3 separate regions of the Homo sapiens genome follow, and all the other regions are linked to region 2. The links are contacts of gene promoters, found by promoter capture Hi-C in human tissues and cell types (Jung and others, 2019). All regions are on one chromosome and are shown on one strand. The core of a region is centred on a gene start or on the middle of the fragment in contact, and the rest is flanking DNA. Distances in the headings are between cores, read along the strand shown.

Region 1 (3,165 bases), core at 228-2,727, 90 kb after region 2:
TCACTGATCTAGTTTTAGTCCCATTCTTTGCACAGAAAGAATGACTTGCTCAGGGTGCTTATCAGAAAATCTGGTTAGACTGATTCCTAGTCTAATATTGCTTCCACTTTACCATGCTAGTTCCGGTTATTTCAGTACTAACTTACCTTTCAATATTTTTCAGTAAGTCATTCCCCACAACATCTAAGAAAGCTCACCACAGAGATTCAAAGCAGCTGTCTACTTCCTTTCTTCCGTATCTCCTTTATCTTACTTTCATCAGTTCCCTGATCAACTACATTTCCAATCCGTATTCAACAAAAACTTAAAAGTAACACATAAATTTTGCCTCATTGTTTTTAACCTAAACATCTCTGTCTCTATTGCAATAATTCTAGGCTCCCTGCCTCCACTTCTTTAAAGTTACATCACACAACCAACCAAAGGAAGAAAAGCAACTATGTAGACTAAGAACAAAATGAACACAAGAAAGATACAATTTTACCACTATAGTAGAGGTGGACTTTTTGGTGAGAGTAGCCTTTTGGGGAAGGCATGCCATGGGGAAGATGCATGAGAGGGGTAAGATTAACTCACTAAAATGTGAGCTCCATAGGGCAAGGATTCTTCTGTTTTATCTACGATGTGCCTATGTTGAATAAATCAAACTAGGAAAGAGGGCAAAGAAGAACATTTGGCACAGGGCGGCTTATTAACAAGCCAGAGTGGTCAAGATGAATTCCAGGACAAAACTGATCTGAGCTTCTGGAGGGAGGTTCTTCTTAGCCTCTCCTTGGATTATCTCTTTTGCTTGGACTCCTTACCTTCTTAAGTGTTTTGAGCTATTCTTCTTTTTTCCTCCAAGAGGCAGGCTAGTTGGGCTTGTCACTTTCTGGGCTCTAAGTCCTTGCAAGTTTATAGCCTAGCCTGACTCATCATAGTAGATTTTGGTGTCAAAGCCCTAGGACCAAGGGCCTAATTATAATAAAGAAGGCTTTTTTGTATGTGGAATATCCTCAGTGGTTATCTCTTCAGGGACCTAGTGGGACAGTAGGTATAGCCAAGGCAGATTTTCAGAATACTAGTCATCTATATTCCTCTGTCCATACCATGATGACTACTAAGCATCTACTCTGGCACTGTGCTATGCACATGAGAAGTACTTAAAATTTAAAACATGGTCAGGTGTGGTGGCTCACTCCTGAAATCCCAGCACCTTGGGAGGCCAAGGCAGGCAGATACTTGAGGTCAGAAGTTTGAGACCAGCCTGGGCAACACGGTGAAACCCCATCTCTACTAAAAACACAAAAAATAGCTGGACAGGGTGGCAGGCACCTGTAATCCCAGCTACTCAGGAGGATGAGGTACAATAATCACTTGAACCCAGGAGGCAGAGGTTTGCAGTGAGCTGAGATCGTGCACTCCAGCCCGGGAAACAGAGTAAGACTCTGTCACAAAATATATGATTATTTATTTATTTATTTTTACTTTTTTAGAGACAGGGCCTCACTCTGTCCCCCAGTCTGGAGTACAATGGCATGATCTCAGCTCACTGCAACCCTACCTCCCAGGGTCAAGCAATCCTCCCGCTTAAGCCACCTGACACCTGAGTAGCTGGGACCAACAGGCACACATCACCATACCCGGCTAATTTTTTGGAGACAGAGTCTCGCTCTGTTGCCCAGGCTGGAGTGCAGTGGTGCAATCTCAGCTCACTGCAACCTCTGCCTCCCAGGTTCAAGCAATTCTCCTGCCTCGGCCTCCCTACTAGCTGGGATTACAAGTGTGCACCACCACACCTGGCTAATTTTTGTATTTTTAGTAGAGTTGGGGTTTCATCATGTTGGCCTGGCTGGTCTAAAACTCTTCACCTCAGGTAATTCAACCGCCTCGGCCTCCCAAAGTGCTGGGATTACAGGCGTGAGCCACCACACCTGGTCTTAAAATTTTTTTTTTAATTTAACAAGTAGTTGCTGGGTGCAGTTGCTCACGCCTATAATTCCAGCACTTTGTGAGGCCGAGGCGGGCAGATCACCTGAGGTTGGGAGTTTGAGAACAGCCTGACCAACATGGAGAAACCTCGTCTCTACTAAAAAAATACAAAATTAGCCGGGCGTGGTGGTGCATGCCTGTAATCCCAACTACTCGGGAGGCTGAGGCAGAATAGCTTGAACCTGGGGGGCAGAGGTTGCGGTGAGCCAAGATCACACCATTGCACTCCAGCCTGGGCAACAAGAGCGAAACTCCATCTCAAAAAAAGACAAGTAGTTTACTTCATAATTAAATTCCTTCCACAAGCTTATTCTTGGTTTTTAATATTTTTACATCTAAATGCTTAGATTGTAGATTTTTTAAAAAATGCTTATTTGTAATTAAGTTCAGTTCTGCATTTTGTCTTCTCCATTCTGAATCCATTACTGCATGAAATGTGGACCAAATAACTATACCTGATCCTGGTAACTTATAGCTCCACAGCATTTTATATTGTTTTACTAACAAAGGTAACAAAGTTAAATCGTCAAGAATTTTTAACTTTTCTTTTGAAATTCCAAAAGTGAATGTTATTTCCCCAAATAAACTCTTAAGCTTCATTAGAAAAATGGTCCATTTTTCTTACTTATCCCTCCCAGAAGACCAGGTTTTGCACAAACCATGACTACTGAATAAACCTGATAATTTGACTAAGGAATTCTATTTCTAAGGAATTAAGAGTGAAATAATTATAAAAAGATAAATGGAGAATAAAGTTTAACAATGTTGTTTTTTATACAAGAAGAAACATTTTAAGAGCCTCTCAACAGAGGTTTGGTTGATTCAGCTATGGAATAGCCATACAGTGTCTATTTAGCCTTTAAAAATGATGTTCTTGATATACCAAGTGGAGAAAAGAGAAGGTGGCAAAGAAAGACATAATAAAATACGAATTTTGGAATTTACAAATCTATATTACTATGAGGGTTGTTTGAACTTTCTAGTACTGGTTGAATTATAAGCAATGAGCATGATTATTACTACAATTGGAAAAATCAATGAAGCCAGGCCGGGCGTGGTGGCTCACACCTGTAGTCCCAGCACTATGGGAGCCTGAGGCAAGCAGATCACTAGAGGCCAGGAGTTCGAGACCAGCCTGGCAAACATGGTGAAACCCCGTCTCTACCAAAAATATAAAAATTAGCTGGGCATGGT
Region 2 (3,158 bases), core at 571-3,070:
AAGCAATTCTCCTGCCTCAGCCTCCCGAGTAGCTAGGATTACAGGCACCCACTACCACGCCCGGCTAATTTTTTGTATTTTCAGGCACCCGAGTAGCTGAGACTACAGGCGCATGCCACCATGCCAGCTAATTTTTTGTATTTTAGTAGAGACGGGGTTTCACTGTGTTGCCCAGGCTGGTCTTGAACTCTTGAGCTCAGTCAATCCGCCCACCTCGGCCTCCCAAAGTGCTGGGATTACAGGCGTGAGCTGCCGCGCCCAGCTTAATTTTTGCTTTTTTAGTAGAGACAGGATTTCAGCATGTTGGCCAGGCTGGTCTCGAACTCCTTACCTCAAGTGATCCACCTGCCTCGGCCTCCCAAAGTGCTGGGATTACAGGCTGAGCCACCACGCCTGGCCTCATCCCTTCTTAAAACGAGTTTTCCATTTGCAAACTGCTGGTTTCTTGGGGGCATTGTCCCCATGAGCTTTTCATAAAAATATCAATGATGTCACCATAAATGTGATGATTATTCTTGCTTCAAATTTAGCAGAATCCTTGTTGCTCTGACAGGAGCTCTTTTCAAACTGATGTCTTATCCTTCTTAGTGCCTCAAACTAGATCTTGTCGAGACATGTGATAACAAGTTAGTACAAATTTATTTTGGTGCCAAAAAATTTTCAAATCCATGCATAGTTTTTTTCATAGTATGAATTTTCCATGAACCTTTTGAAGACCGCTTGTATAGAAAAAAACAGTATATATAGGGTTTGGTGCTATCCAAAGTTTCAGGCATTCACTGGGAGGTCTTGGAACTATCCCAGTGGATAAGGGAGGACTACTATGCTAAAAACTATCCCTTGTTTAACTGAAATTCAAATTAAACTGAGTGGCCTGCATTTTATCTGCCAACCCTACCCTGGGGGCACTTAAAAATACCAGAGGCCAGGCGGGGCGCGGTGGCTCACGCCTGTAACCCCAGCACTTTGGGAGGCCGAGGCGGGCAGATCACGAGGTCAGGAGATCGAGACCATCCTGGCCAACATGGTGAAACCCCGTCTCTACTAAAAATACAAAAATTAGCCGGGCGTGGTGGGGTGGGTGCCTGTAGTCCCAGCTACTCACGAGGCTGAGGCAGGAGAATCGCTTGAACCTGGGAGGCGGAGATTGCAGTGAGCCGAGATCGGGCCACTGCACTCCAGCCTGGCGACAGAGCAAGACTCCGTCTCAAAAAAAAAAAAAAAAAGAAGAATTGCTTATCCACGCCCTGTTTCTTTTCTCTTAGCGTTACTCAGTGGGGGAGTCCTCCCAAGTATGATGGAGAGTCCTTTCGAAACCCTGCTGGATTGTCAGGACAACCAACTGGGCTACTTTTCCACAGGTCGCCCCAATTCCTTTGGATTCTGATTTCTCTGAGGTCCCAGGATCCAGACAGGCTTGGCCAATCCTTCCCCGCCCAAACTGTAACTCTCAAAACCAACACCCCGGCATAGGGCTGGAGGGGAAAATGGGTGAGGTCAGAGACAAAGAAGAGGGAAGGGTCAGGCGGGGCTCCGGGTTCCCTGCCACAAGCCTCCGCTGGTGTTCTGCTTTTCTCCCGAGAGCTCCCGCCCACCCTGCAACCCTCGCCTGGCCCCGCTGCCGTTCTCAGCTCCCTCCCAGTGCCTGGTGGAGGCCGGGGCTGTGTCCCGAAGGGGGTCGGGGCAGCAGAACCTCAGCCACAGCCAATCACAGCGGGGTCCTTCGGGGAGGGGCGTGGCCTGACAACTTCGGCGACGCGGCTGGACCAATCCGGACGGAGGAGAGCGAAGCTCCTCTGCACTGGGCCCAGGTGCGCTCCTCAGCGTCTCCGGGTGGCGGGGCGCGCGGGATGGAGGAGTCTTGGGAGGCTGCGCCCGGAGGCCAAGCCGGGGCAGAGCTCCCAATGGAGCCCGTGGGAAGCCTGGTCCCCACGCTGGAGCAGCCGCAGGTGCCCGCGAAGGTGCGACAACCTGAAGGTCCCGAAAGCAGCCCAAGTCCGGCCGGGGCCGTGGAGAAGGCGGCGGGCGCAGGCCTGGAGCCCTCGAGCAAGAAAAAGCCGCCTTCGCCTCGCCCCGGGTCCCCGCGCGTGCCGCCGCTCAGCCTGGGCTACGGGGTCTGCCCCGAGCCGCCGTCACCGGGCCCTGCCTTGGTCAAGCTGCCCCGGAATGGCGAGGCGCCCGGGGCTGAGCCTGCGCCCAGCGCCTGGGCGCCCATGGAGCTGCAGGTAGATGTGCGCGTGAAGCCCGTGGGCGCGGCCGGTGGCAGCAGCACGCCATCGCCCAGGCCCTCCACGCGCTTCCTCAAGGTGCCGGTGCCCGAGTCCCCTGCCTTCTCCCGCCACGCGGACCCGGCGCACCAGCTCCTGCTGCGCGCACCATCCCAGGGCGGCACGTGGGGCCGCCGCTCGCCGCTGGCTGCAGCCCGGACGGAGAGCGGCTGCGACGCAGAGGGCCGGGCCAGCCCCGCGGAAGGAAGCGCCGGCTCCCCGGGCTCCCCCACGTGCTGCCGCTGCAAGGAGCTGGGGCTGGAGAAGGAGGATGCGGCGCTGTTGCCCCGCGCGGGGTTGGACGGCGACGAGAAGCTGCCCCGGGCCGTAACGCTTACGGGTGAGTGCTCACCTGCGCCGGCAGCCGACGCCGCCAGGTCGGGTGGACGTAGCCGAAACCCCCACACCCGCCCAGCCCTGGACCGCTGGGCAGCTGACCGACTAAGGGACCCAGTTGGCCATCCCGATCCCCAACCCGATCTGGCCTCTCGGGCTTACAATCAATAACATTCCTGTCTACGTAACTGTAATTCACATTGTTGCCGTGTCTCACGCCTGTAATCCCAGCACTTTGGGAAGCCGAGGCGGGCGGATCACCTGAGGTCAGGAGTTCGAGACCAGCCTGACCAATATGATGAAACCCCGTCTCTACTAAAAATACAAAAATTAGCCTGGCATGGTGGCATTCACCTGTAATCCCAGCTACTCAGGAGGCTGAGACAGGAGAGTCGCTTGAACCCGAGAAGCGGAGGTTGCAGTGGGCCGAGATCATGCCATTGTACTCCAGCCTGGGCAACAAGAGAGAAACTCCGTCTCAAAAAAAAAAGAGTAAAGCCACTCCCCTTCTCATCCTCCCCTACCCGCACTCCCGAACTTTCAAATTCCCTCTTA
Region 3 (3,145 bases), core at 188-2,687, 86 kb before region 2:
GAGGGTGGCCGGGGGTCTGACGCTGCACTTTGGAAAAACTCACACAGTTGAATTTCCAAAGAAATCTGCCCTTTGCCCTCTTTGCACCTTTGATACATTCTGGAAGTTTTCTCAGGCTTTGGACACTTCTGGGGATGGAGGTGTGGAGAAGTGGGGAGTTCCCTCTCTTCATAGTAAATAACTCTGAAATATGTGAATGTGAATGGCAGGAGAATCTGGCCAAGGATGGGGCCGAAAAGGGTGGTTCTAATTGTTTGCTTCTGATGTTGAGTCTTTAGCTGACCCCACAGGCAGGTTTCCAAGGTGCAAAGAGATCTTTCCCGAGTCAGCGGCCCCATCCTCATCCTCCCTCCCTTTACTTCCTCACTGTGCAGTCTCCCTCAAGGATCTACTGTGAAAGGTGTGTTTGTAGTGATATCCAACCTAACTCAGTAACGAAGTCGTTACTTAGCTCTTAGCTGTGAAATAACTCTGGAAACTTCCCCACCCCAACCATAAATTCTTACTTATAAAGAAACAGGTCCCCAAACTGGAAACAGCTTAGTCCAGGCCTCAGCGAGAAGGAAGGACACCATGACTGCTCCATGCTGGGCACAGCCGGGCAGTCTTGCCAAGTGCCTGCTGGAGGCTGTGCCGGCAAGAGGCCTGCAGCAAGGAGATTCCCTTCCCTCGGGCCATTATCAATACTGTCTTTATCTGGAGGTGGGGAAGCGCAGCCCTCTGAGACAGCAGGACAATGGTCAGTTCAGAGAGGGTGAGGGCAGCAAACGCTTCAGAGGACACAGAAGCCAGAGGACCCCCCCCCGCCCCACAGCTGGGTCAGCCTGGAAAATCCATCTATTAGGGACTTTTTGGCAGCCAGATGGCAGCAATAGCCCATTAGGTCTCATCCCGAGTTCCAAGTCTTGGCTGCAAATGAGCCTCAGTTCGCCTTACTGGAGAGCACCCCCAGATTCCTGGGCACAGTTCATTTCCAGCCCTTTCTAGATCTGATCTTTTAGGGGGAAAGACAGCTTAAAATGTTCTTTTCATTTTAAAGAAAATTATTCTGTCTGCTTAAGTTGGAGGCTACTTACTCTTTCACCTGACATTTTCTTTCCTTTTATTCTTCCAGATCAGGAATGAAATTTCCATGCTGCTCATAAAGATAATATTATTGTACTAATTATTTTTATTACCATTGTAATTATGATCATTATGTTGATATTTTAGTCAGGGTTTTAAATGCACATTTATTCCAAGTATCTTTGTGTTTTCTCTTTAATATTTAAACTTATTCTCTCTGTGAGTATATAAGTAGACTGGAGGGACATCCAGATGTCCAGTTTTGTCAGGCAAAAAAAAAAAGGAAAGACTTAGGAAGTAGGAAAATTGTTTCTGTCATCTCTATCCCAACAAGAGACGTCAAGAAAGATCCACCACAGAACAAAAGTTTAAAGAAGAATCAAAGCCTTGATTGGGCTTCTGACAACATGGTCACCATCAAGGTTGTCATTTTCTAGATCCCAGAGGCCTGGGATGCGACGTCAGGTGGCATCTCATGGGCTCGGGGAATGTCGAGTCACTGACTGTCCAGCCCTTAGCCAGCTTCTCTCCCACATCCTCAGAGCTCTCCTGTGCTTCTGAAATCTGTTAACTAAATCTTTGGCTTGCCTCTGGTATTTAAGCAAGAAAATTCCCTCCCAGAGGTGACCCCATCCGCTTCCCCACAATCCATCCTTTTGCCATCGGCGCACCTGGGGCGTGGCTTAGGTTCTTCAATGCAGGGACATTTGCCCCCTCCCAGAAGCTGCTGGGCACAGTGAGGTGGCGTAAGAGTGACTGGCAGGTGGTACCTTCCCCAGGAAATTTCACCACACCACCCAGTTCCTCAGCCTGCCCCCTCCCCCTGTGATGCATGCCCCCAGCACCCAATTCTAGCCAGCTGGAAGTGGGTGGAGGGACAGCAGGAGGCCAGAGAAACCCTGAACAAAGCTGGGCGGCTGCTCAGGCATCACAGGCTGCACCCCCTCTGAAAGCATCCCCACTGGGCTCCGGCCACATCTTCAGTGCACTGTGCTGTGTGCGCTGGGTGCTCACACGCTGTCCCCAGACCCACAAAGTGCTAGGCCCCAGTTGAAGAAAGGGGTGAAATAGCCAGCTTCACCGAAGGGAAGGGAAGGGAAGTATTGGGCGATGCCAGCCCCACAGACGCTCAGCAAACATTAGTGCACATTCTCCTAGTCCTCACCCAATGGCCTCCTCTACCCCCATGCATGGAGCTGCCACATCAGAAGCCCCAAGAGAAGCTCCCTGCAGGAGAGGCCAGCTCCCTGGATGCCCAATTGCATACCTGGCCGAATCTGCCATTGAGTCACCTTAGCAAATAGGCTGCTGTCACTAGGACCAAGCTCTCAAGCAGAGGGATGCCAACCTAGTCCTTACTTAGCCCACGAATCATCTAGAGCATCCTCTAGTCTTTTGTGGGCTCCCTCCTTCCCATTTGAAGAGACATTGTTCAGAGGAAGAGGGGAAGATTTGAAATGTCAGGTCACGGAGGAGTGTTTAACTGGAGCCTGGTGAACCGCAGGGCAATTTGCTTCTGCTCACTGGGTTCTGACTGGCCCGTCTGGACGTGGGCCCCCATGTCTCTGTGCTTAGGGCCTCTTCATGATGTTTTGGATGTTTCCAAGGGAAGTGGGTGAGCAGATCAAGGGGTGGGAGAGTCGAGGCTTGATGCCAGTTAATACTGTGAAGTGGAGCGTGCGGTCAGTGGAATTCAGAGGAAAAAGAAGGGTTGGAGCAAAGCGGCATTCATCTCCTGGACTGTTAGCCTTTCTAGTCTTCCTGGTGGCTGAGGTGTTCACGGGCTGGGGGAGCCAGCTGACCTTTGTCCTCTTCAACCTAGAAGACTCAGCCCGCCCAGACACCAACGTGTGAGACGGATGGACATCAGGAAGGGAAGGGGAGATTAGCCCAACTGCTGACAGAACGATTTCCCTTGGTTGGACCTTGGGAATGGCAAACACTCATATTGGAACAAGCTTGGGGTGGAAGATTTAGGCCGTGTGAGCATGTGTGAGTGAGTGGAACAAACTTTCTTGGAAACTGGAGGGAGGAGATGAGGAGGCTTCGGGAAGTATTACTGATGGCTCATGGTTGAGAG

Evidence for each region. Contacts are between HindIII fragments. The study calls those that stand out against the background at their distance.
Region 1: a fragment that was not itself captured here is called in contact with the fragment with the promoter of KLRG2 in region 2 in 2 of the 25 tissues and cell types used here (mesenchymal stem cells and spleen).
Region 3: a contact is called between a fragment that was not itself captured here and the fragment with the promoter of KLRG2 in region 2, in 2 of the 25 tissues and cell types used here (heart left ventricle and neural progenitor cells).

The regions. Positions count from the first base shown.
Region 1 is chr7:139,391,739-139,394,903 of GRCh38, reverse strand. The region is part of intron 3 of FMC1-LUC7L2 (FMC1-LUC7L2 readthrough); the gene reads right to left. The region is part of intron 2 of LUC7L2 (LUC7 like 2, pre-mRNA splicing factor); the gene reads right to left. Among named protein-coding and RNA genes, the nearest start is that of LUC7L2, 33 kb to the right of the region's middle. The HindIII fragment of the contact is 3,512 bases long and covers 1-3,165 here.
Region 2 is chr7:139,482,335-139,485,492 of GRCh38, reverse strand. KLRG2 (killer cell lectin like receptor G2) reads left to right here and starts at 1,820. Exons shown (of 5, transcript NM_198508.4): 1 at 1,820-2,607. The coding sequence starts at 1,851. RefSeq lists silencers at 1,651-1,710, 2,171-2,450 and an enhancer at 2,581-2,660. The HindIII fragment of the contact is 6,160 bases long and covers 1-3,158 here.
Region 3 is chr7:139,567,943-139,571,087 of GRCh38, reverse strand. It overlaps HIPK2 (homeodomain interacting protein kinase 2), which reads left to right. Exons shown (of 15, transcript NM_022740.5): 15 at 1-3,145. Among named protein-coding and RNA genes, the nearest start is that of CLEC2L, 46 kb to the right of the region's middle. RefSeq lists enhancers at 1,497-1,997, 1,998-2,498. The HindIII fragment of the contact is 8,657 bases long and covers 1-3,145 here.